Regions from separate parts of the Homo sapiens genome. Here regions 2, 3, 4, 5 and 6 are each linked to region 1. Evidence: promoter capture Hi-C in 16 types of primary human blood cells and fetal thymus (Javierre and others, 2016). All regions are on one chromosome and are shown on one strand. Each heading gives the region's core, a stretch centred on a gene start or on the middle of the fragment in contact. The rest is flanking DNA. Distances are from core to core; before and after follow the strand shown.

Region 1 (3,789 bases), core at 455-2,954:
CCCAGCCCCCAAACTCTGGGTTGCTGTCCCTTTTCCTGTAGAACAGGAAACAAGGTTATTTCCTAGACTCAGAGCCAGCCCCCTGCCCCTCTGGCTCTGCCCGGGGACCCAGACCCAGCAGGGGAAGGCGCCCTCAAGCAGCGAGCAGAGATTCAGCAATTCACCCCAGCTCCCTGCCTAGGGGGCTGACAGCTGTCACTCAGCACCCCACCCCCTGGGGAAGAGGGGGCCGATTCAATCAGAGCCCCAGAGGAAACGCATTGATAGGCGATTATTTATTTATTTATGCAAAAGTGAGCCGACTTTGTTCGCCAGGTAACCGGGCACGCGGCCCAACCCCTCCAGCCCTAGCCGCCCCCAAATCCCTCCTCCGCCCCACACCCCCTCCGGGTCATTAGGTCCCCGCCCCTCAACTCCCCGAGAGCCAGTGGATCCTAGGGATTTGGGGGTTGGAGGGGAGGGGCTCCTCCCTCCGCAGTCTCCCCTTTTCCCAGCGCCGATCCTAAAATCCAGCCTTGTTCTCCGCTCCCACGGTCCCCCCTTCATTCCCCCCCCCCCCACATTCTCAGCAAGCTGGAGAGCAAATTGCAGTTTTAAATCCAAAGGCGGAGGGAGGGGGAAGGAGGAGGGGGCGCGCGGCAGCGCTGGGCGCGCACCTCGCCCCCGAGCCGGGGGAGCCGCGGGGCGGCCAGGAAACCCGAGAACCCCCCCTCCCCGCCCCCCCTCCCCGTCCACCTCCCCCTCCCCCTTCCCGGCGCTGCCTGCCAGGCTTCGAGCCGAGCCCAGCCGAGCCGCGGGCCCCGGTGGAAACAAAGACCGATCGCACCGCGGGCACCGCAGCCACCGGGTCCAGCGGACCGGACCGGGGGACGCAGGCCCCCCCCGTGCGCTGCACAAAAGAGCCTGGCCGGCCGGTCCCCAGCGGGGGTCTGGGGCTGGGGAGGAGGCGCCACTCACCGGAGTGCTGGGCTGCCGGCTCCGTGGGTCCGAGCCAGGCGAGGGGTTTTGGGGGACGTCTGTCTTCCGGCGGTGGCAGCGACGCGGGCGCCCGGCTGCTGAGGAGAGGAGTCGTGGAGGAGCCCTGAGCCGCCCGCCGTCGCTGACAGCATGGCTCGCGCCTCGGCTCACATTCTCCGCCGCTAACTCCGCTGGACACGGCCCCCCGCTCCCGCGGCGCCCCCCCACCTCGATCACTCCTTCGCTCTCTCTGCGCCCCCCTCGCCCTCCCGCCGCGCACACACTCTCCCAGCCCTGGACACCCCCGCCCCCACCCCCCCCAATAGCAAACCTGGGAGGGAACGCGCCCCGCGTAGTCCTCCTGCTCCTCCTCCTCCGCCCTCCTCCCTCCCGCTCTCTCTGGCTGTCTGTCTGTCTCTCAGACTGTCTCTATTTCTCGCTCTCTCTGCCTTTCTCTGCTCTCCAAGCTGGGTGGGAAAAGGAAATGAGGACAGAAAGCAGACGCTGGCTTTGGGTGGTGGTAGCTGGATTCCCTCTCTCCCTCCCTCCCCCTCCTCCCCTCCCTCCTCCTGCCTTCTGCTCTCTCCGCTGCGAGCGGGGCTGAGCGCAGCCTGGCGGGTGGCTCGCTCTGCCCGCCCGCCCGCCTGTCTGTCTGTCTGGTCCGCCTCGCTCGCTCCCTCCCTCCGTCTCTCGCCCTCGCCCTGCCTGCCTGCCTCTCTCCGTCTCCGCCGCCGCCGCCGCTGCCTCTGCGAGCTCGCCTTACCTTCGCCGCTCACCATCCGGAACCCCAGGGGGGAGCGCGCGCGCGGCACGCCGGGACTTGTAGTCCCCGCCCCGGCCGCTCCGCGCGCGGGGAGGGCGGGGCCGCGCCGGCTGCTCCGACGGCGCGGCCAGGAGCCCCGGGGACCCCGCGCCTGGGGCTCGTCTGGCTGGAGCGCGTCCTCGTTTACCAACGGGCGAAGATCCTCCCCAAGGGTTAAGAATGGTCCCTGTGTTCCTTGTCTCCACCGGGGGGCTCTGGATCGAGCGGAGGTTGCGGGTGGGAGTGAAGGGGCGGGGTCTGAGAGTGGAATGGGAGTGGAATAGGGAACCAGGGGATTAGCCAAAGGGGCTGCGACTTTCTGGGGCGTCCCAATTAAATGGGAGGGGGAGAGGGCAGAGGAGAGGACCGGCTCTCTCAATCTGGGGACGTTATCCTTTTCTGAAAAGGTTTCTTATTGAGTAAAGCTCAAGTATATATGGCGGGAGGGCTGCTGGGGCGGGGGAGCGGGGGAGACCCAGCCAGCGCTGCTTCCTCACTCAGTGACCCCTCCTCTCAAACTCCGACCTCGGTTTCGCCCTTGCAACTCCCAGCTTTCCTATATGTCCAAGGGCGGCGAGGGCTCAAAAGTCCTGGATAATCCGCAGATAGAACACACACACCCTTTTCCGAATTCTGCTGAGCATTTGCGTTGTGTCAGGAAGCAGGATTCAGATTGAACGGTGCTGACCTCCTGCCGCGGCCGGGGGCTGGGCTCAGCACTTTCACCTACCTCCTCTTCAGGTCACATGTGTTCTCCAGCCCCTGCCTAGCCTATCCCACAGATGGGAATGTGCGCTGCTTGGGGGCCTTGTTACCGCCCCCGGAGATGGCTGAACTGCTGCGGTAAAATAGTGCTGTTATTTCCATTTTAGAGATGGGGGCACTGAGGTCCAGGTTCTCCAGTTAGCAAGTGGCTGAACCCAGCTGGATTTGAACCAGGGTCTGACTAACTCCAAACCCCACAAGCTTAACCCCTGGGCTATGACAAGGAGTTGTGACTCCCTCCATTTCTGTAACTGACCTTCTCTCCCTGTGTCTGTGTGTCCTTTCTTGGCACTTCAACAAATGTTAACTGAGGTATGCAGGGCTTGCAAGGGACACGGAGATGAATAATGCATAGTGGCTGTCGTGTCCTGTGTCCTAGGTGTCTACCAACGCCGGCCCTGACTGGCCCTGCGGCGGTCCCACCTCACTGGACCACCTCATCTGTGTGTCTGATGTTCCACACCCTGTGTCTGCTGGCCTTGTCTATCTTGCTCCAGGTCTGAAGTTCCTAGAGCAGTGCCTTTGTCTCTGGCCTACCTGTTTCTGACTCTTCCTTTGGCCTTGCAGGGTGTTGGCCAGTGTGTGACAAAGGCAGCTGGTGACATTTTGCCAACCGCAACTCCCTGGTCACTATCTTCCCCACACCTTCACTCCTTCCAAGCTCCTTCTCTATGGCAGTCCAGTACCCCCAGAGGACAAGAGAGGGGATCTGGGGAACACTCTCTATTGGCCCTTGGCAGAGGGTGTGTGCAGCAGTAATAGGAGAGGTCTAGGGCTCTAAACGGGACACTATTGATTTGGCATCATGGGGCTGCCATGACCGACTGGAGAGGCCCTCATCTTGGAGCAGCTTCTCCTTGCAGACAAGTTAGGACTTGGGTTCAAAGATTTATTCATTGAATGGGAAATATAAGGTCAGATGCTCATAAAAGTAGTGGCTAAAGTCATTAGAGATTCTGCAGCTCCAAAGCCTGGGCCTGAAGTGATCCCAAATAGATGAGGCTTTGGCACCTTGCCCTAGCTGGCCCCCTATAGGACAGACAGACTTCGGCGTTGGGGAGGGTGAAAGAGACCCAGGTTCCTCCTCCTTTCTCTCCCTTCCCCCATTACCCATTAGATTCTGCCTGTAGTCATGAAGACTCTACTCAGTTTGAATCAAGTTTTAGGAGGGAGTTGGGTGGGATAATATAGGATGGTTTCTGGGGTGTGGAGAGCCCCAGTAGGTTGAGATGAAGGGGAGTTTGGGAAAAGCATGGGAGGGGGAG
Region 2 (3,789 bases), core at 920-3,419, 470 kb before region 1:
TATTTTATTTTTGTAGAGACAGGGTCTCCCTAGGTTGCCCAGGCTGGTCTGAAACTCCCAGGTTCAAATGATGCTCCCACCTTGGTCTCCCAAAGTGCTGGGATTACAGGGGTGAGCCACTGTGCACAGATTAACATTTTTTATGAAAAAGTGGTTCACACCACTGTAGAGAAAAGCCCAGGATGAACTATTCAGAGTGCTCGGCCCGAGAAGCAAGGGAGTAAAAGGGGTATAACTTGCATTTTTCTTCTTTATATACTTAAGCAGTGTTTGATTTTTTTTTTTATTTCTTCCTTTTTTCTGGAAAAAAAAAAAAAAAAAAAAATCTGGAGGGAAAATGTTCTGAGCACCTGCTCTCTGAGTCAAAATTCAGTACTAAACACTTTACTGTCACAGATTATTTCATTTAATTCTCACAAAACCCTACGGAGTACAAGAATGCTCAGAGCAGCTTTATTCACAATTGTCAAAAAAAGGGAACCAATCCAAAAGCCCATCAACAGGAGAGTGAGCCAACTGTGGTGTATTCATACGAGGCAACACCGAACAGCAATAAAATGAACAAACCTCTGGTACATGTGACAGTGAAGAGGAATCTCACAGATAGGCTGAGCAAAAGCAGCCAGACACACAAGAGTACCTATGATTCCATTCAGATGAAGTTCAAGAACAGGTAAGATCAACTGATGATGATCCAAGTCAGAACTGTGGTTACCCCAGAATTATCTGCAGAAAAATGACACAGGTCAGATAATCAGCCTACAGGCATATAGCAGGCAGGTAGTAGAGCTGGGATTCAGACAGGTCTGTTGGACTCTGCAGTCTCTATTGGCCCCTGACTGCCCAGAAGGATGCCTTGAATCTCCACCTGCAGAGCCTTCTGGGCCCCTCTAGAGGCAGTCTCGCTCCTGGCTTCAGATGTGGGGACCCCCTTATCCTCAGCGCTAAGCACACATCCCTGTGGTTCAGTCACTAAGGGAAGCCTGGCTCTCCAGAAGCCTCAGCTCATGGAGAACTGCTGCTTAACTAGCAAGGGGACAGCAGCCAGGTCCACGACTCAAGCTCTGGGTCTGCTGGGAGCAGGGGGCAGGAGGAGGACTGCTCTGTGCCAAGGGAGGATGCCCAGTGCACACTCACCACTCCTAACTAGCCCTGGCCCACAATAAGGGAATTTCCAAGCAGAGCTGGGCCTGGGCTTGGCCCCGCCCACTGGGCCACACTGCCTCACACTTTCCCCAGCTCTTGTTGACCCAGAAAAGTCAGACCCTGCCAGTCACCCTAACCCCTCTCCTCAACCGAGGATAAGACCAGGAGTTTTGAGGGACTCAGCTCCCCCAGAAGCACCTGCATCTTCCTGCTCTAAATTCCCAGCCCTGCCCAGGCTTCCCTCCCTCCCCTCTGAAGGGAGCCACCACCTGCTGCTTGGCACGGATACCCCTCTCCGGCTACATCCTCTCCACTCTCCCCTCAACTCCTACACAATCCCCGTCCCAAACAATTTCCTGCAGTTTCCCATCTGATCAGTTTCTTAGGAAGGATAATTATCCATGGAAGGAGGAGGCGGAAAATTCCCAGAGCCAAGAACACTGGGGGAAAAGCTTCATCTAGTCCCTTCTCCATCAGCCAGGAGAGCCCTCATCCTAAACACAGGCCAGTCATGGTCATGGCTCCTCCAGAACCTCTGCAGTTCCCCCATCTTCAGGAAAGAGCCCACACTTCTCTGCATTGAATCCAAGGCCCTCTTGATCTGTTCTAACTTAGGTTTGGGCCTCGTTGCCATTCCATTGTAAGTGGTAGTGCCAGATGGAGCCCCATCTGCCCCCAGGGCCCACCTGCAACGTGCTGTGTCCCTGCGGCACTTCAGCCTGCCTTGTGTTTTAGTTGTTTACATGTCTGTCTCCCACACACAAGTGTCAGTGCCAGCGCTTCCAGGGTGGGAACCACCAACCACGCAACTGTGTCTGCTGCATGGTAGGTGCTCAGAGGCAGGCTGAAAAGAAAGTGGGACAGGCAGGAGGCCGCCTCACCTCTGCGGAGGGAACGATGTGGGAAGAAGGACCACTTATAGCATCACAGGAGAGCCTGGACTAGAGGTCGGGGAGCTGAGCTCAATGCAGCTCTGTGGCCCTTAAGCAAGTCACTTCCGCCCTGGCCTCTGCTTCCTCTGTGAGCTGAGGGGGATGGGCCGGGCTCTGTCATCATGTCAGACATTTAGAAGCCCTTACTGCTAGGTGCTCGCCTCAGCATTCTCATTTAACCTCCACACCTTTGCACATGGGGACCACAAAGTTGCAAGTGGGGGAGGGGGGTTTCAGTCCTGGTCTTTTGATTCCCTAACCCCTTATCTTCTCCTCCTGGACTTCTGCAGTCTCTAGGATCCCTCCCAGTGCTAAAGTCTGGTTCTGATTCTAGGTCTGCCCTTTCCTGACCTGACAACTCCCCAGGCCACGACCATAGGGTTCAGCAGGGAACACGCATGTCCAACCCTGGTGTTCAGCAATGCCACGCCTCCCACATGACAGGTCTGGTGACTGTTTGCCTGCAGGCGCTGAGGCTCAGCAAGGGAGGGGTGGCCAGCAGGAGTCCAGCAGAGCCTGGTGCCCACTCAGCCCCTCCCTCCCCAATGTGCCCCTGACTCCACGCCCACTCTGCTCCAGCGTCCTGCTCGCCCCTCCCTGCTAGCAGCTCTCCTAGGCTGGAGCTTCCATCCCACTGCTGGCTTGGCCAGTGGTGCCTGTCGGGAAGCTTTACTCTGTTGCCCTCATAGACCCAGCTTGAGCTGCTGGCAGGCAGGACACTGAGTGGGGCCAGCCCAGGGCCTGAGCCGACTCTATCGCACTCCCAGGCTGTCCGCACATCCCTCCCCAGGTCAGACCATGTCATGCTACTCAAGAGCCTTTGATGGTGCCACACAGCACCATGAATCCTAGCCCCAGGCCCACGGGCCTGGCATGATCTGGCCCCTGCCCTCTTCTCCATTCTCACACCATGCTTCCCCTCTTCCCCCGCACTTCAGGTTCCTCAAGCACACCCCCCTCAGGGGCCCTGGTCTTTGGAAGATGAGCTCTTCTTGTCCTTTGGGTCTCAGCTCAGACACCAGCTCCTTAGAGAACCCTTGCTGGCCATCCAGCAGCCCCACCTCTCCCTCATGTCTGCCTTCTTCAGGACACTTACCACTACCTGACACTGCTTTGTCCACATCCAATGCTCCATGCTGGCATGGGAGCCCCCTGACATCAGGAGCCTCTTCTGTCTTGTTCCTGGCTGTGTCCTCAGATCCAGAATAGTGTCTGACATGGGGGTAGAGGCAGCTGGTGGGGCGTGTGCTGCCCGTTAGACTGGACAGTCAGGGAGGCCTCTCTGAAGAGATGACGTTTGATCTAGGGCCTGAAGGAGAGCACCGGCGCGAGGCAGTCTATGGGCAGTGCTCCAGGCTGGGGATCGAGCAAATGCCACAGCTGTATGGAGGAACAGGCCTGGCAAGGCAGATGTGCGTTAGGGACACAGGAAGGCCGGTGCGACTGGAACAGGGAAAGGGTAGTGGGGCATGAAGTGGAGAAAGGGGTGGGCCACACTTTCCTTGCATTTTCTCCCAAGTTCATCAGGAAGCATTTGAAAGGTTTTCAGCAGGGGAAACACCATGCTCTGGTTTACAGGTCTCAAAGCTCCCTGCGGCTGCTCTGGGGAGAGCTGCCTGCAGGCAGACAGCAGTGGAGCCGCAAGACCATTCAGGAGGCCCGGGAATCACCCGGGTTGGAGAAGATGGAGTGAAGAGGCAAGCCTTTGACA
Region 3 (3,789 bases), core at 426-2,925, 370 kb before region 1:
CTTAATTCACTAGTAGCACTTATCTCCCATGGTAAGTATTCAATAAATGTTAGATATTATTCAGTTTAATTAACCCAATGACCCTAACCAAGGTTGCAGCCTGAACCTGGGGAGCTGCAGATAGATGATCTCAAAGCTTTCTTCTAGTCCCAAAGTCTATGATTTTTTATATTCAGTAGAACAGCTGTGGTGGAGAGTTCAGGGGGAATGACCCACAATATTTTTAGGAGAAAGGCATAAAAGGCTTTGTGAGCGGTTTCACAAGGATAGGTTCTTACTCCTCTAAATGGGGAGAAATCTCCCTTGCGGAGAAATCACCAGCAATTAGAATACTACCTTTGTCTCTGGGAGTATTCAGGTATTCACAGACAAATTCGTACTCATGATGTGAGCAGAATTGGAAAAAAAAAAAAAAAAAAAAAAAAAAAACAAGCGACACATGGAGTGATAAACACTATAAATGCCAAATACATATATTCAGTCCTTACTGAGAGCGGGTGCTGTCTGGTTTTCACAGGAAAGACAGGCAGTGTTAAAAGGCTCAGACTCTGGTGTCAGGCAGATCTGGGTCTAATTCCCAATTTGCCAACTTATCAGGACCCCGGGGGCAAGTTGCTTTTAGCCTTTCTGCTTCAGCTTTCCTTTTCTGCAAAACACAGACAGCAATAGTACCTAGCTAAGAGACTGTACCCAATCCAGTGCGAATAAAAGTGAATTATTGTTAGTATCTGACAAATGGCACCCTATGGGTGACAAGTTTCCTTTGTCAGAAGGTGACACGTCTTCCCTTTCTGACTTGAGGTTTCACGGGTGGGGCCTGGTCTCTGCCTTAAGAAGATAGGCTTAGTGCCACCCTTGTCACCTTGGGAACTTCCTTAATAAAGAGGAGGGTCTCTCCTCCATCAGACCCGGGACTCCACAAGGCTGGAACTGCGTCTCTTCCTCAGAGGTGGGAGCAGCAGTGACTCCGCTAGGGTCAGATGGACCTAGTCGCTCCCATCACCCCGAGGGCACCCAGAGTGTGTGTGGCTGACTCCTCTCCAGGCTACTCAGCGTAGGCCCGATTCTCTTTCATTCTCTTCCTTAAGGCCCAGGAGACGTCAGTGAGGACTGTGCCACTTCAGCAGCCCCCCAGAGCAGGAAGGAGTGGGCTGAGGAGCCCCCCGGGGCCCTAGCCTGAGAGGTCCCAGAATTCGGGGGCTGAGAGGAAGTCTTAGGAGCTCTTAAGGGGCTGTGAGGGGACCTGGGGTTCAGTGGGCGAGCGTGTGGGCGGGTGTCCCAGAAGCGGTGTGAGGAGCGTTTTACCCGGTGGTGGGGTGGGAGGTGCGTCCGGGTAACTAATGGCAACCGGGCGGGGTGAGCCCGCTCTGCAGGAACTCCTCGACGGCGAAAAACTACGACTCCCAGGGTGCCCCAGGGCTTAGCCCAGCTTTCCCGCCCGCCCACTGGCTGCCGGTCCCGCAAGCGGCGAAGCCCATTGGCCACGGCGGTGCGGGGCTCCCCCACTAGCAGGTTAGTGGGCGCCGCCGGCAGCAGACGTTGACCGGGCGCGGGGGGGTAAGTGGGGGGGCCCGGCTAGCCATTCTGGAAGCGGCCGGGCGCAGTCTTCGTAGCGTACCCGCCGGCTGCGAGGCGCAGGGCGGAGGCGGAGACTGCGTGGCGCAGGCGCGTTGCTGGGCTTCTCCTGGGTCCCCAGACAGCTGGAGGAGATAAACAGAGGAGGAGGAGGGAGGGGAGTGCGTGTGTGAGAGCGCGCGAGGGAGTGTGAGTGTGTGTGAGCGCGGGTGTGAGGCGGTGCGCAGGGGCGGGCGGAGGCGCTGTCCGGCCCCGGCCAGGCGCCGGGCGGGGAGCATGGGAAGGGGCTAGAACTGCTCGAGCCCCCCAGCCCCCTCCCCGGGATCCGCGCCCCCCTTCCCGGGAGAGGGGCCGCCCCCCCCGGACGGACATGGGCTCCTGAAGTTGCGCCGCTGCCGGTCGGGGGAAGAGACCTGACAGGTACGGGTCACCGCCGCCCCCTGCCCTCCGCGGGCGCCGAGGCGGGGACCGGCTCCCGCAGCCCCGGTGAACGGGCCGCCCGCTCTGGGCCGGCTCCAGCCCTGCCGGCCTGGGGGCCTGAGCCTACCCGCCTCGGGGCCCCGGGTGTCCCGAGAGGGGCCAGGCCTCGCCGGGGCGGAGGGCAGAGTGGTCCGGGGGCGGGGTGGGGGCGGAGGGTTTGGTCGGGACGCGGGGGGAGGCTGTGGGAGTCCGGGGAGGCTCTGCGGAGGGAGAGGTGGAAGTCATTCCATCATGGGACTTTTTTGCGGAGTTTTTGTTTGACATCTGATCTGGCGCCGGAGTCAGGAAGAAGGGGCAGGTGTAAGTGCTGGGAGGGCAACGCCGACCTGACCTGCCCTCTTAGCTTCTCGCTCTCTCTCTTTCTGTTTTTCTCTCTCTCTTTCTGTGTGTGTGTGTGTGTGTGTGTGTGTGTGTGTGTGTGTGTGTCCACAGCAGATGCCTTCAGTGGCCCATCCTGGCACCAAACAACTCTGCCAAGGTGTTTCCACCAGGCGACTGTAGCACCCCGTATACAAAGGGCCTCTGCTTGGGAACGGGCTATTCAGTACCCACTTCAAAGGGTAAATAGGAAGTGAGGAGATAGAAGAGAGACTGCGAACCAGCAGGATCCACTTCTTGGACTGAAAGCCGCAGTGGGACGCCCCTTTGCCAGATTGGTTGACTTTGCTTGGTGGCTTGGGCTCTCTCTCCTCTGCGGGTGTACTCCCAGGGTTTCTAGAGGAGAGGTACAGGGGCCTGTAACTAATGTCTTAATAGCCGAATTTGACTGTTTTCCCCAGAGTTCTTTTCTTCTGTGACTTTCTTTAACCTCCTGAAGTACTGGTAGAGCAACGTTATAGTTTTTCTCTCAAGTTGGTGATTTTAGGAGCCTGGTAGGGTGGCTGAAGCTTCCCCATTCATTCCAAGGATGGGGTAGATGATCTGGGTAAAGTGGCAGTGAAGTCTTCCCTTTCTAACAAAGCCTGAAACCGTTTTGAGAAGAAACTATTTTGAGGGCAGCTTCTGACTCAAAGACGTTACGAAATCCCCACCTAGGACACCGGTATGCCCAGTGGTCCCTACTAAGCTTTTCTGTGTCTTTTAGAGTCGTTGAGTGGCCAGCTTCTGCTCACTGTACTGAAGGAACTACTTAATGCTATTTCTGTCTTGAGTTCTGGCTTATTCTTCCTTGTGATTCTTATATCTTTAGCGGGATTGAATTGAATTTTTGCTGTTGAGTGTAATAGCCAGATCCTCTGTAACAGACCAGGGAGTAACTAGTTGGGCTCCTTTGGGCCAAGTCTGAGACTTACTGAGGTTTCTTCATTGTAGGTTGTTGTATTTCGTTGGCAGGTGGGAAATGACCTTTTCCGTCATAGTTTGTGATCATGCTGCTTTAAGGCTGGAGTCCTGCTCTCCTTTCCTTTTTTGACCTATATGGGAGCACTTCTGTTCGAGTCTTATCTCAATTTGAAGGAACAGTGCTTTTGGATCAACTCTGCCGAATAATTGAGCAGTAGCCCATATTTCTGCCTGGGACACCTTCATTGAGGGTCACGAGGGAAAGAGAGAACACGTGTAAATATTATGATGATGATGTTAACAACTATTTACCAGTTTCATACAATTGACAGTTTTTTTTAGCCGGGAGGAGTTCAGTATTGACTCATTGGGCATCTTATGTAGGGTGTTTTTGCACACCTAGACTTTAGGATCTGGAAAGACAACTGAAAATCTTGAAGCCCACTGCCAAAC
Region 4 (3,789 bases), core at 419-2,918, 320 kb before region 1:
TCCCAAGTAACTGGGACTACAGGCATGCGCCACCATGCCTGGCTAATTTTTTGTATTTTTAGTAGAGACGAGGTTTTGCCATGTTGCCCAGGCTGGTCTCAAACTCCTGAGCTCAGGCAATCCACCTGCCTCAGCCTCCCAAAGTGCTAGGATTACAGGCATGAACTACCGCGCCCGGCCCAAAACCCTGTTTTTTTAATAAGCCAATGTGTTTAAGAATGATAGAAATTTCTTGGCCGGGCGTAGTGGCTCACGCCTGTAATCCTAGCACTTTGGGAGGCCGAGGCGGGTGGATCACGAGGTCAGGAGATTGAGACCATCCTGCCTAACACAGTGAAACCCCGTCTCTACAAAAAAACAAAAAATTAGCCGGGTGTGGTGGCGGGCGCCTGTAGTCCCAGCTACTCAGGAGGCTGAGGCAGGAGAATGGCGTGAACCTGGGAGGCGGAGCTTGCAGTGAGCCGAGATCGCGCCACTGCACTTCCAGCCTGGGGGACAGAGCGAGACTCCATTTCAAAAAAAAAAAAAAGAATAATGGAAATTTCTCAGGACAAAATAGAAGAGAATCAGCTGTTTACAAGGCAACCTTAAATTCTGTGACATTTACTGTTCTTCAAATTCTGTAACCTAACTCCTTGTAAACTGAGAACATGGGATGGGGAAAGGGAGCCTAGGAATTTGAGGAGAGATCACAATCCCTCACTCTGCTTTCAGCTTGCTGGCCTCTGGTTCCGATGACCAGCACACGATTGTGTGGGACCCGCTGCACCACAAGAAGCTGCTCTCCATGCACACGGGACACACCGCAAATATCTTCTCTGTCAAGGTGAGCAGGACAAGCCACAGAGCAAGCACAAGCCACAGATCAAGCACAAGAGTGACTGGGCTGTGGCCACGCCATGTTGGTATGTGTGTGTCCCATATACCGTCTAGGGTCACAGACAACCTTATGATCTAAGTATCTGTTGGTGATTCCTGAAACCTCATTTCTCTTCCATGTTCTTCTTCCTCTTTTAGAGCTAAGCGGCCAATTCTAGATGAATTTATCTTTATGTGAATGGTAGTGGTGGGGGTATGGTTCTGAACGTGAACTTAGAGAGCAGGCATACCTGGGTTTGACTCCCTTATCTGCTTCTTGGGCATTGTGTGACCTGGGCAAATCACCTGACCTGTCTGAGCCTGTTTGCTCATCTGTAAAAAAGGAAGCAGCGAAGGAAAATCTCCCAGATTTGTAAACAAATTAATTTTTTTAAAAGGAAATAACAGTCTACAAGGTTGATGTGACAGTTCAATGAGATAATTGATAAAAATAAAGTCTGTGCCCAGTGCTTTTTATCTGTTCTACCCCTTCATAGGAAATGAATATTTTGATTTGTTGGAGGAGGGGAGTTGAGCGGAGGAGAGGTGAGAAGGGGACTTACAAGTGTCTTCAGACCTTTGAAGCTCTGTTGAAGCCCTGGAAATGACATGAGACATGTTTTTTTGTTGTGGAAAACAGACCTAGGACTAGTGGCTGTAAGTCCACAGAATTAAATGTGGGCCTGAGGAAAGAAAGAACTGTCTAATGCTTAGAGCTCTTTGAAAAATGTAGAATGGGCCCCTGGAGGAGATGAGTAAATGTCCTATCCCTGCACTTGTCCACTCGCCAGGTGCTTTATCTCCAAGATTTAAAGTTGGAAGAAATGGCCTGCAAGGAAGGGCCTTTCCAGCTCTGAGATTCTATAATGGATAGATGTGAGAATGAAGTTGTCCTTCGGAAACCCTCACTATTCTAAGAAATATTTTCGTAATTAATATCAAGAGGAATTACAAGATACCTGAACAAGATGATAGCTCCAAACCTACTTGTTTTCCTAAACCCTTTTTTCTTCTCAAGCTATGATTCTCGCCTTTAGAGACAGAACAATGATGATTTACCTCTTATATGACTAACGGAAACTGCTTTCTTCCCCTGCAAAGAGTTTAGGTCCAATTTTAGTCTGCACAGTCAGGCCTGGGGAAGGGGACCTAAGCCATTAGTTTAGCATCAGAGCACAAGACATTGATTTCTAACACCAGAATTTCATAATGGTCTTGATACTCCCTAACGGTAAGACCTTGGGAACGGCACTTACATGCAGACTGTCAGCCTCCTCTTCTATTTAAAAAAAAAAAAACAACCTGAAAAGGATTCTTCTTTCTTTAGGTAGTGGAAACACTGCAGATGTATATGTATTTAACTCATGCGCTCCCCCTGGTGGTGACTATGGTGTGTGATGCGTGTGGCAGCAGCCACAAGATCATGACAAGGGCTCCCCAGTTTATTTCTGCTGTGCATTGAGTGTATGCCGTCTCTAGACAGGATTAAAGACTACTGGTTGTCCCTAAAATAATTAAATCATGTCTATTTCATCTAGACCTTGGTCTTTTTTTTTTTTTTTTTTTTTTGAGGGTGAGTCTTACTCTGAATGTCGCCCAGGCTGGAGTGCAGTTGGCACAATCTTGGCTCACTGCAACCTCCGCCTCTGGGTTCAAGCGATTCTTGTGCCTCAGCCTCCTAAGTAGCTGGGATTACAGGTGTGCACCACCACACCTGGCAGATTTTTGTATTTTTAGTAGAGATAGGGTTTCACCATGTTGGCCAGGCCAGTTTCGAACTCCTGACCTCAGGTTATCCACCCACCTAAGCCTCCCAAAGTGTTGGGATTACAGGCATGAGCCACAGTGCCTGGCTAGACCTTGTTCTAATGGCCCTTAGAGAAGCCTATGTGGAAAGAGTGAATTGTTGTTCTTTGTGAACATTTAAAGTCAAGTGGGACATCAGCTGTTTCAGTGTAGGACATTGCCCCTCCCCCAACACTACCACTCAGCCTTGTTGTGGGTAGGGAGGAACTTTTCAATTTTAAAAAAAAGATATTTCAATTTTTTGAACTCACACGAGAATTCAACACCACTCCCAAATATTTTTTATCCTCAAAGTTATGTGATAGAACTACATACTTTCTTTCTTGTTTCTTTTCTTTTTTTTTTTTTGAGACAGAGTCTCGCTCTTGTTGCCCAGGCTGGAGTACAGTGGCAAGATCTCGGCTCACCGCTGCCTCAGCCTCCCGAGTAGCTGGGACTACAGGCATACACCACCACACCCGGCTAATTTTTTGTATTTTTAGTAGAGACAGGGTTTCTCCATGTTGGTAAGGCTGATCTTGAATTCCCGACCTCAGGTGATCCACCTGCCTCCGCCTCCCAAAGTGCTGGGATTACAGGTGCGAGCCACAGCGCCCAGCCCAGAACTGCATACTTTCTTTTTTCATTATTTGAAGCTATGGTTGCAGCTGTTTTTTTCTTATCAGATGTCATCTGGAGTATTTTGTTCTTGCCTTTATCAGGATGGTGGTTTTTTTTTTTTTTTTTTTTTTTGAGATGGAGTCTTGTTTGCTCTGTCACCCATGCTGGAGTGCAGTGATGCCATCTCAGCTCACTGCAACCTCCACCTCCCGGCTTCAAGTGATTCTCCTGCTTCAACCTTCCGAGCAGCTGGGATTACAGGTGCACACCACCACATCCGGCTAATTTTTTTTGTAGTAAAGACGGGGTTTCACCATGTTGGCCAGGGTGGTCTCAAACTCCTGACCTCAGGTAATCCGCCTACCTCGGCCCCCCAAAGTGTTGGGATTACAGGTGTGAGCCACGGCACCTGGCCGGTTTTTTTTGTTTTTTTTTTTAATAAATACTGCATAGAGATGTATCCTCTTGATGCTCAGCCCTTCCCTATTGTCCAACATTTGAGCTGTTTCCAATATTTGCTATTAT
Region 5 (3,789 bases), core at 896-3,395, 300 kb before region 1:
GAACTATGCAGGCTTTGGCATCTGGTAGGCCTAAGTTTGAATCCAGTCTCCTCACTCGCTGCCTGAGAGACTTCACCATCTCTGACCCAGGCTTTTAATCATCTGTACATTGGGAATGGGAATGACAGCACCACCTTGAAAGGTTGTGGTGAGAAGTAAAGAAGAGATGCCTGTGAAGTGTCCAGCCCACAAGGACACTTAGGACAGTGGAGTCCCCTCCACTCCCAGGGTGGGTAGCCAGGGAAGCTGGCTTGGTGCCTCCCCTTCCCCTCTGCCCTACTGCTTCCCTCTTCCCAGCTGGCAAAACAAAAGTCAAGTGGTATGTCTGATTCCCAAGATAATTTGCTGTGACTTTTAAAGAGAGGACCCCTATAGGCTTCCCCATTGAGAGGAGAGGAGAAAGAAAGATGAAGCAAGAGTTGTGGCAACAAAACAGAATGGGGTGGGGAAGTTGTATCTGCCCCTTGTCCCAGGTATCCCAGTATGTGTGTCCAACATATCCTGGTGTGTACTGTCCCCCACGTATATCCCAGCATGTTATGACCTGCCTGTATATCCTGAGGTGGCGTATCTCCCATATATATTCCAGCGTGAGCACCCCCAACAATATGTAGCCAAGGTTGTGTGTTCCCCTCCACCATATACACCTCCTGGCATGTATGTGTACCTCCCCCTATAGATAGTTTAGTCTGTGTATTTCCCTCCCCCTCCCCTATACGTGTACCCTGGTGCCTCTCCCTCCCTGAGCCCCACGTGTGTCACCCCTTTCTCCACCACAGAGTGAAGACCTCACAGGCCGAGTCGTGGAAGATATGGAGGGTGCTTCACAGGCCAACCAGCGGCGCATGAATGCAGACCCGTTGGAGGTGATGCTGCTCAACATGGGCTACCGGATCACGGGCCTGAGCAGTGGGGGTGCCGGGGCCTCTGATGATGAGGACAGCTCTGAGGGCCAGGTGCAGTGCCGGCCCAGCTAGACCCTCCAGCCCTGGTCCCCAGCCCCTGCTACTGGCTGGACCCTCTGCCCTGGGCAGGAGGTCAGGGGATTCTGTTTTGGTTTGTCTTCCCCACCACCCTTTTTTTTCATTTCCCCTGTTTTGTTTGTTAGTTTGGCGTTAGGGGTGGAGGTTGCTACAACTTGCTGGCTTTCGGACTCTGGGCTGATTGTCCCCTGACTATCCCCAGCCCTGAAAAAAAGAGCAGGAGGGGACACCCCTCCATATGCCCCCCCCCATCTCCTGCTTTCATGTCCCTGGAGGGCTCTGGCCTGCCTCAAAACCCCTTCTGCCTCAGGTGGGGAGGAACAAGCTGAACTGTCTTCAGGGACTGTCCTGCCCTTTAGCTGGCAGCAGCAGGAGGAGTGGGATTCCCAATTGGTAAGGGCTCGCCTTGGCCTGTTGCCACTCTTGCTCCCTAGCCTGCAAGGCTAGCTCCCCTGTGGTCTTCAGGAAAGGTTTTGAAAAAGGATGGGTCCCACCCTCCCTCCAGAGCCACCAGTGTTAGAGCGGAGCCCAAAGGAAGGATGGGAGCCCTGGAGTGGGCAAGACCAGGCCACCTGCTGAGGTCGCTGTGGAGCACCCTCGCTCCTCTCCTGGCTACTAGCTCTGGCCCTGCACCTACTCTCACTGGCCACCTCTGGAGGCTCTGCCTTTCCCAAGGGCCCTGGCAGAGGGTGGGGCACTGCACCTTACCCCACCCATCCATGCCAGCACTTCTGCACTACGGCCATTCTCCTCTTGGGCGCTCCTCAGCCTCACTGTGACCTTTCTGCCAGAGCTCCCAGCCAGGCCTACTCTGCTGAGGTGGCGCTTCCTGCTAAGGGCCCTTCTCTGCCCTTTCTGCCCTCCTTCCCATCCCACATGCTGAGCCGCCACAAAGACCAAAGAAGTGATGGCTTTTCTCTGTCCCCTGCTGCTCTGAGGGGAGAGGGGTGGGTCTCCTGAGCCACTCAGATGGGAAAGTCCCTTACTCGGCCCCTCCCTCCCCAGCAGCCCCAAGCTTTACACTGGATGCAGCGATCAACCCACCACTCACCAGGCCTCTCCTCCCCTCTGCCCCCGGCTCTTAGCTCCAGCTGCTCCAGGTAGTTGGTTCATCCTTCCCCCTCTCTCCCTCCCTGCTTCCCCTTCAGTGCTTACTTGGCTCCAGCCCTCCAGCTGCAGCCCCTGGGGAAAAGCAGCCTCCCTTCTCCTCTCCCTCCACTCCCTCGCTCCCTCCCTCAGCCCCTGTCTCTGCCAGGTGCCTCCTCTCAGTCAGGCTTCAGAGCAGCCCTGGAGACAGGAGGGCCATGTTAAAAGCTTTTTCACAGTTTTAAGAAGACAAGTGGAGGGTGAGGATAGTGGTGGGGGGTCTGGCACCATCTCATTGCTTTAATCCCAGCAACACAGGTGGCAGCTTCTCCCCCTTCCTTCCCACCCCAGTCCCTCTTCCCACCCCTCTCTTCTAGCTTGGTAATGAAGTATATTTATTGGTGAAGGAAACAGCTGCTGCTGCTTCTCCTGCTGCTGGGACCTGCTCCCCTGTCTCTTCTCCGTGACCTTTCTCTAGCCAGGGAGAAGGGAGAGCAGGAGTATTGGGGCTGGGCCCTGGGGCCCAAGGACCAGCTGGGTCCCCTTTGCTTTCTTGTGTTCCAGCCACCTGCCATTTCCTCCCTGCCTCCCACCCTCCCTCCCTGCCCCCTGTCCTGCTTCCCACCCCCTGCCTGCCCAGCCTGGGCCCTGCAGTGTGGAGAGACACATAAGCCTTACTGTCCTCTGGGGGCAGGAGCCGAGCCTTTTTGTTGCTCCGCTCCCAGGAGAGTGAGGGTGACGCAATTGATTAAAACCATTTTGTTCTAGGTGTGGCTGGTGGCATTTGTGGGGTGCAGATGGGTCTTGGAACCAAAGTGAGGGCACCTGGTCCCTCACCTCTGTAGCTCTATGACTTAGTAACCACACCTCTACTGGACAGAATGAGGCCTGCCTTGAAGGGTCACCGTGAGCAGCGGCCACCCAGCCCAGCAGGGCTGAGTGCAGAGCCCAGCTCTCATGGCTGTGATTTGTAATCATCAGCTTTCACTCTCTGGCTGTTTTCTCATCAGTAAAATAAGGGACTTGGAATCTTAGTGGTTTTTCAAACCATTTTACATTGTGACCCAATATACACATGATTACTTGTAGATATGTGTGTGTGTATATATATATAAAAAAAATGAACAAAAGTTTTACACAATAATATTTACCCTTGCTACATGCAGTGTACTCTGCTTACCCTTCTGTTTTATTAGGGAAAAAAATATGGCTATAACCCACTAAATTGATTTCACATATGCAAGTTTTTGAAGTGCCCTGGATTAGATAATCTCTTAGACTATAGGTTCCTGAACTTTCTTAGCTCACAGCACCATTACCATCTCAGTAATTTTTTCATGGAGCCTCTAAGCCAAAAGAAATAACAGTTCAATTTATTAAGTAGTTAAGTCCAAATCACTTAAAAAGTATTTATGTCCTAACAAGTTAGTTGCCATTTAAAAAATAATACACCTGAATTGGAAGAAACAATATTTATTTCATTCTTTTTTTTTTTTTTTTTTTTTGAGACGGAGTCTTGCTCTGTTGCCCAGGCTGGAGTGCAGTGGCATGATCTCAGCTCACTGCAACCACCGCCTCCCGGGTTCAAGTGATTCTCCTACCTCAGCCTCCCAAGTAGCTGGGATTACAGGCATGTGCCACCATGCCCAGCTATTTTTTTTTTTTTGCATTTTTATTTATTTTTTATTTTTTATTTTTTTTTTGAGACAGTTTCGTTTTT
Region 6 (3,789 bases), core at 1,290-3,789, 260 kb before region 1:
CTGAGACCTGGGCAGGGGGAGGACAGCAGAGACACACAGATGGGAGGGCACCTGGAGTGAAGTGTGGACAGCATCTGGAGGTGGCAGGAAGCAGCAGGAGGCCAGGGGCCAGGATGATGGGGGCTGGTTACAGAGGTGGAAACTTGGAAATAGGTTTCAAGTGGGGAAGAGGCCAGAGGAATGCAGGTTGAGACACAGCAGGAGAGATGGCTGGAAGTATCAGCGTCAGGGAGTCACAGCTATAGGAAGGACAGGAGAGCAGAGAAAGGAAGGGAAATTTAGAAACCCGAAGACCAGATAATGAAGTTTCATGCCTTCCAGGAGGAAGAGCTGCTAAGGAGGTGAGAGGAGGGCAGAGAAACATCCTTGGGGGCGCCAGGACCAGGATGGCAGGAAGGGGTGTGGATGTTCTTGGCCACTCTCCTTCCATTTTGAGGGCCTTAATGAAGGAGGCAGCATCACAGTAATGGTCCCACAGCAGCTGCTCCATGGGTATTGCATGTGTGGGTGCATAAATGCATTAATCAAGAGTACTGGGGTCTGGGCAAGGTGGCTCACGCCTGTAGTCCTAGCACTTTGGGAGGCTGAGGCAGGCAGATCACATGAGACCAGGAGTTCGAGCCCAGCCTGTCCAACATGGTGAAACCCCATCTCTACTCAAAATACAAAAATTAGCCAGGCGTGGTGGCGGGCGCCTGTAGTGCCAGCTACTCGGGAGGCTGAGGCATGAGAATCACTTGAACCCAGGAGGCGGAGGCTGCAGTGAGCCAAGCCAGCCTGGGCGACAGAGCAAGACTCCATCTAAAAAAAAGAAAAAAAAAAGTCTGCAAGGATCTCACTGAATTTTAGTGAAAACCCTCTAAGGAGAGATTACCCCCATTTAACAGATGAGAAAAATAAGATTAATTTGCAAAAAATAAGTAGGGAAGCCTCCACTGTGGTTCTGAGGTGGAGGAGGGTCCTCTGTCTCTCAGTGGTGGTGGGAGTCGGTTCTGATTACAGGAAGGAAGAGTGGGTGTTTAGTTTTCTTTTCTTTTCTTTTCTTTTTTTTTTTGTGACGGAGTCTCGCTCTGTCGCCCAGGCTGGAGTGCAGTGGTGCGATCTCGGCTCACTGCAAGCTCCACCTCCCAGGTTCATGCCATTCTCCTGCCTCAGCTACTCGGGAAATAGCTGGGACTACAGGCAGCCGCCACCACGCCCAGCTAATTTTTTTTGTATTTTTAGTAGAGATGGGTTTTCACCGTGTTAGCCAGGATGGTCTTGATCTCCTGACCTCGTGATCCACCCGTCTCGGCCTCCCAAAGTGCTGGGATTACAGGTGTAAGCTACCACGCCCAGCCTTGTTTGCTTTTCTGAGACGGAGTCTCGCTGTGTTGCCCAGGCTGGAGTGCAGTGGTGCGATCTCGGCTCACTGCAACCTCCGCCTCCTGGGTTCAAGCGATTCTCCTGCCTCGGCCTCCCGAGTAACTGGGACTGCAAGCACCTGCCACCATGCCCGGTTAATTTTTGTATTTTGAGTAGAGACGGGGTTTCACTATATTAGCCAGACTGGTCTCAAACTCCTGTCCTAGAGTGATCCGCCCACCTCGACCTCTTAAAGTACTGGGATTACAGGCATGAGTCACTGTGCCCAGACTGGTTTTGTTTAGAATCCACCCCTTGTCCTGCCTCTCCCAGGGGTCTATGAGGAGCCCACTAATCTTTAATCCATGGCCCTAGGTTCAGGGGAGGGGGTTGGGCCAGGGCAGGCCATGGGAAGTGAAGTGGACTTGGGGGGAGTCAGAAAGCTTTGGTGTGGCCTCTTGTGCCCAAGACAACCCAGGAGGTTCATGGTCCTGAAGCCAATGTAATCTAGGGCCCAAACCTTCTAATCTCAGGGTGGGCAGAATCTAGGTGTAGAATGGGGTGAGTTCAGGGGGGCTCCACATAGACAGAGGGTGTGGGACCCTCACCTTGGCACTAGAAGAGTTCAGGCCTCCTCAAACAGATGGGGCTCAGGACAGCAGAGGGGACAGAGAGGGCTGCTCTGCCAGCATGTCCCAGAAGTGCATGTGGATATAGAGGGCAGCAGCTGCTGAGATGGCCGTGGGCATTAGGCTATGCTGGAGTGGGGACACCTCACCCCGACTATGCCAGCTCGCACCGGGCACTTTCACTTCCCTTAGTATAGGCTCCTTGCACTCTGCTACCCACAGTTTGCATCAGAAGAAATGGAAGAGACCTGCTTAAGGTCACATCACACACCCACTGGCAGAGCAGGGACTCTGCACAGGGTGGTCTAACTGCAAAGTCTGCCATCCTGCCATTCCCCTTGGGGCTGGAAAAGAAAGGTTTCTAACTTGCTTTCAAAGCGAGTTCCTATCAGCCCCGTTGTGGGCAAGGTGGGGCTGCTACCCGTTCTAGAGGGCCTGCTCAGTGGAGCTGGGGCCAAGCTGGGCCTCTCCAGTCGGCTGCGGGGGCGCACCCCCGGGCGCTGGGAGTCCAGGCCCGGTTTTGCATCAGGCCCTGCCGAGGTGTTTCCTCCTCCTCCGTGTGGGGCAGCTGCTGGCTGGGCTGCCTGTTGAGTCAGCCTTCTTCCCTCACGGCTCTTCTCCCGGTCCCTGAAACTCGGCTGCCAGGGGAGCTGGAGCCACCTGCGAAGGTGTCCTCCCATACTGGACCCCTACAGGTAACACGTGTCGGTGCCAGGGTCCCCTGCCAGGGTCCAGAGACGCAGGCACTGCCACCTGGTATCCTGAGCACCCTCCAGCACCTTGGGGTTGGGGGAGGTGGGCACATGTCTGGAACTGGAACAGCTGGACAGATGGACAGACCCTCCTCTTGACCAATGGGTCTGTCCCACCGTGTCAAAACAGCAGAGAAGACCAAACTCCTACCTAACTCTGGTAGGAGATTCTGCCTCTGGTTGGTAGGAGAGGGGACTTCAGGGAGGGGGCACTGCTGAGGACGCTGGGCTGATGCCCATGGCCCAGCTCAGGCAGGCCTGAAGGACAGAAATAGGCTCAGTTCTGCCGAACGTCCCCCCGGCCTCCATCCACACTCAGACACACACACCTGGTGGCCCCCAAGGCACCAGGGGACACCCCACAGCACACAGCCCAGTCACACATACAGCACAGGAGGAAATGCACAATGCATACTGTACACACCCCACACGGCGCTGTCACCTAGAAAGTCACTGAACACACCACACAGACAATATAGTCACCATGCAGCATCACACTGCAACAGGACACAAAGACACACAGCAACTACACAGCTCACAGACTCACGCAACGCAGACATGCCCACCAGACTCGGACCCACACAGCCACACAACAGGGCACAGAGAGGGACGTGGGCTCACACCCCAATCCACAGGGGAGGCCGAACGTGGGCTCACACCCCAATCCACAGGGGAGGCCGAACGTGGGCTCACACGTTGGCCACAGAAGTCCAGGGAAACTGCTGTTGTGGAGCACACAGGTATCCACAGAGTGAATGCACACCGTGCAGCCGTGCTGAGGCCTTCTGCTCCTGAGGGTGTCAAGAGGGATCGCTGGGGCTCGGCCACTGACTCAGCTGGGAGGGGACAGAGCATAGCAGGCGGCGGACACAAGCCAGGACCTGCCCGCCAAGCTGCCTCCGCCGGTCTCAGCCCCACCTGGAGCCGTGGCAATGGAAGGGGCGGGGAAGAGAGGAGAGGCCGCCCAGTGGGCTCAGGACACAGCCCTGACCAAGTCATGGGCCCCTTGCCACGTCTACATGCCCCTCAGCGCTGGGCAAATGCTTTCTTTCCGGAGTCACTGT

What was found. Contacts are between HindIII fragments. The CHiCAGO score rates a contact against its expected background, and 5 or more counts as called.
Region 2: a fragment that was not itself captured here is called in contact with the fragment with the promoter of AHDC1 in region 1 in 1 of 17 cell types (total CD4 T cells); the score reaches 5.1 in total CD4 T cells.
Region 3: the fragment with the promoter of WDTC1 here is called in contact with the fragment with the promoter of AHDC1 in region 1 in 7 of 17 cell types (erythroblasts, non-activated CD4 T cells, fetal thymus and 4 more); the score reaches 6.0 in erythroblasts.
Region 4: a fragment that was not itself captured here is called in contact with the fragment with the promoter of AHDC1 in region 1 in 2 of 17 cell types (naive B cells and total B cells); the score reaches 5.2 in naive B cells.
Region 5: a fragment that was not itself captured here is called in contact with the fragment with the promoter of AHDC1 in region 1 in 7 of 17 cell types (naive B cells, M1 macrophages, M0 macrophages and 4 more); the score reaches 7.7 in naive B cells.
Region 6: a contact is called between the fragment with the promoter of SYTL1 here and the fragment with the promoter of AHDC1 in region 1, in 16 of 17 cell types (endothelial precursors, naive CD4 T cells, naive B cells and 13 more). The highest score is 14.8, in endothelial precursors.

What each region holds. Positions count from the first base shown.
Region 1 is chr1:27,602,440-27,606,228 of GRCh38, forward strand. It overlaps AHDC1 (AT-hook DNA binding motif containing 1), which reads right to left and starts at 1,705. Exons shown (of 9, transcript NM_001371928.1): 1 at 1,667-1,705; 2 at 1,289-1,424; 3 at 958-1,055. RefSeq lists an enhancer at 347-396 and silencers at 880-959, 1,510-2,049. The HindIII fragment of the contact is 3,248 bases long and covers 1-2,723 here.
Region 2 is chr1:27,135,222-27,139,010 of GRCh38, forward strand. The region is part of intron 1 of SLC9A1 (solute carrier family 9 member A1); the gene reads right to left. Among named protein-coding and RNA genes, the nearest start is that of SLC9A1, 18 kb to the right of the region's middle. RefSeq lists enhancers at 623-692, 2,289-3,100. The HindIII fragment of the contact is 1,147 bases long and covers 1,597-2,743 here.
Region 3 is chr1:27,232,957-27,236,745 of GRCh38, forward strand. It overlaps WDTC1 (WD and tetratricopeptide repeats 1), which reads left to right and starts at 1,676. Exons shown (of 16, transcript NM_001276252.2): 1 at 1,676-1,995. WDTC1-DT (WDTC1 divergent transcript) reads right to left here and starts at 1,473. Exons shown (of 3, transcript XR_947117.2): 1 at 1,306-1,473; 2 at 489-646. RefSeq lists silencers at 1,496-1,555, 1,756-1,905, 2,096-2,145, 2,306-2,355. The HindIII fragment of the contact is 2,806 bases long and covers 135-2,940 here.
Region 4 is chr1:27,282,624-27,286,412 of GRCh38, forward strand. It overlaps WDTC1 (WD and tetratricopeptide repeats 1), which reads left to right. Exons shown (of 16, transcript NM_001276252.2): 5 at 715-826. Among named protein-coding and RNA genes, the nearest start is that of TMEM222, 38 kb to the right of the region's middle. RefSeq lists a silencer at 2,162-2,241. The HindIII fragment of the contact is 7,577 bases long and covers 1-3,789 here.
Region 5 is chr1:27,305,407-27,309,195 of GRCh38, forward strand. WDTC1 (WD and tetratricopeptide repeats 1) reads left to right here. Exons shown (of 16, transcript NM_001276252.2): 16 at 780-3,230. The coding sequence ends at 977. Among named protein-coding and RNA genes, the nearest start is that of TMEM222, 15 kb to the right of the region's middle. RefSeq lists enhancers at 1,850-2,375, 2,376-2,901, 2,902-3,426. The HindIII fragment of the contact is 299 bases long and covers 1,997-2,295 here.
Region 6 is chr1:27,339,483-27,343,271 of GRCh38, forward strand. It overlaps SYTL1 (synaptotagmin like 1), which reads left to right and starts at 2,540. Exons shown (of 15, transcript NM_001193308.2): 1 at 2,540-2,668. RefSeq lists enhancers at 2,161-2,420, 2,951-3,000, 3,175-3,789. The HindIII fragment of the contact is 10,600 bases long and covers 1,786-3,789 here.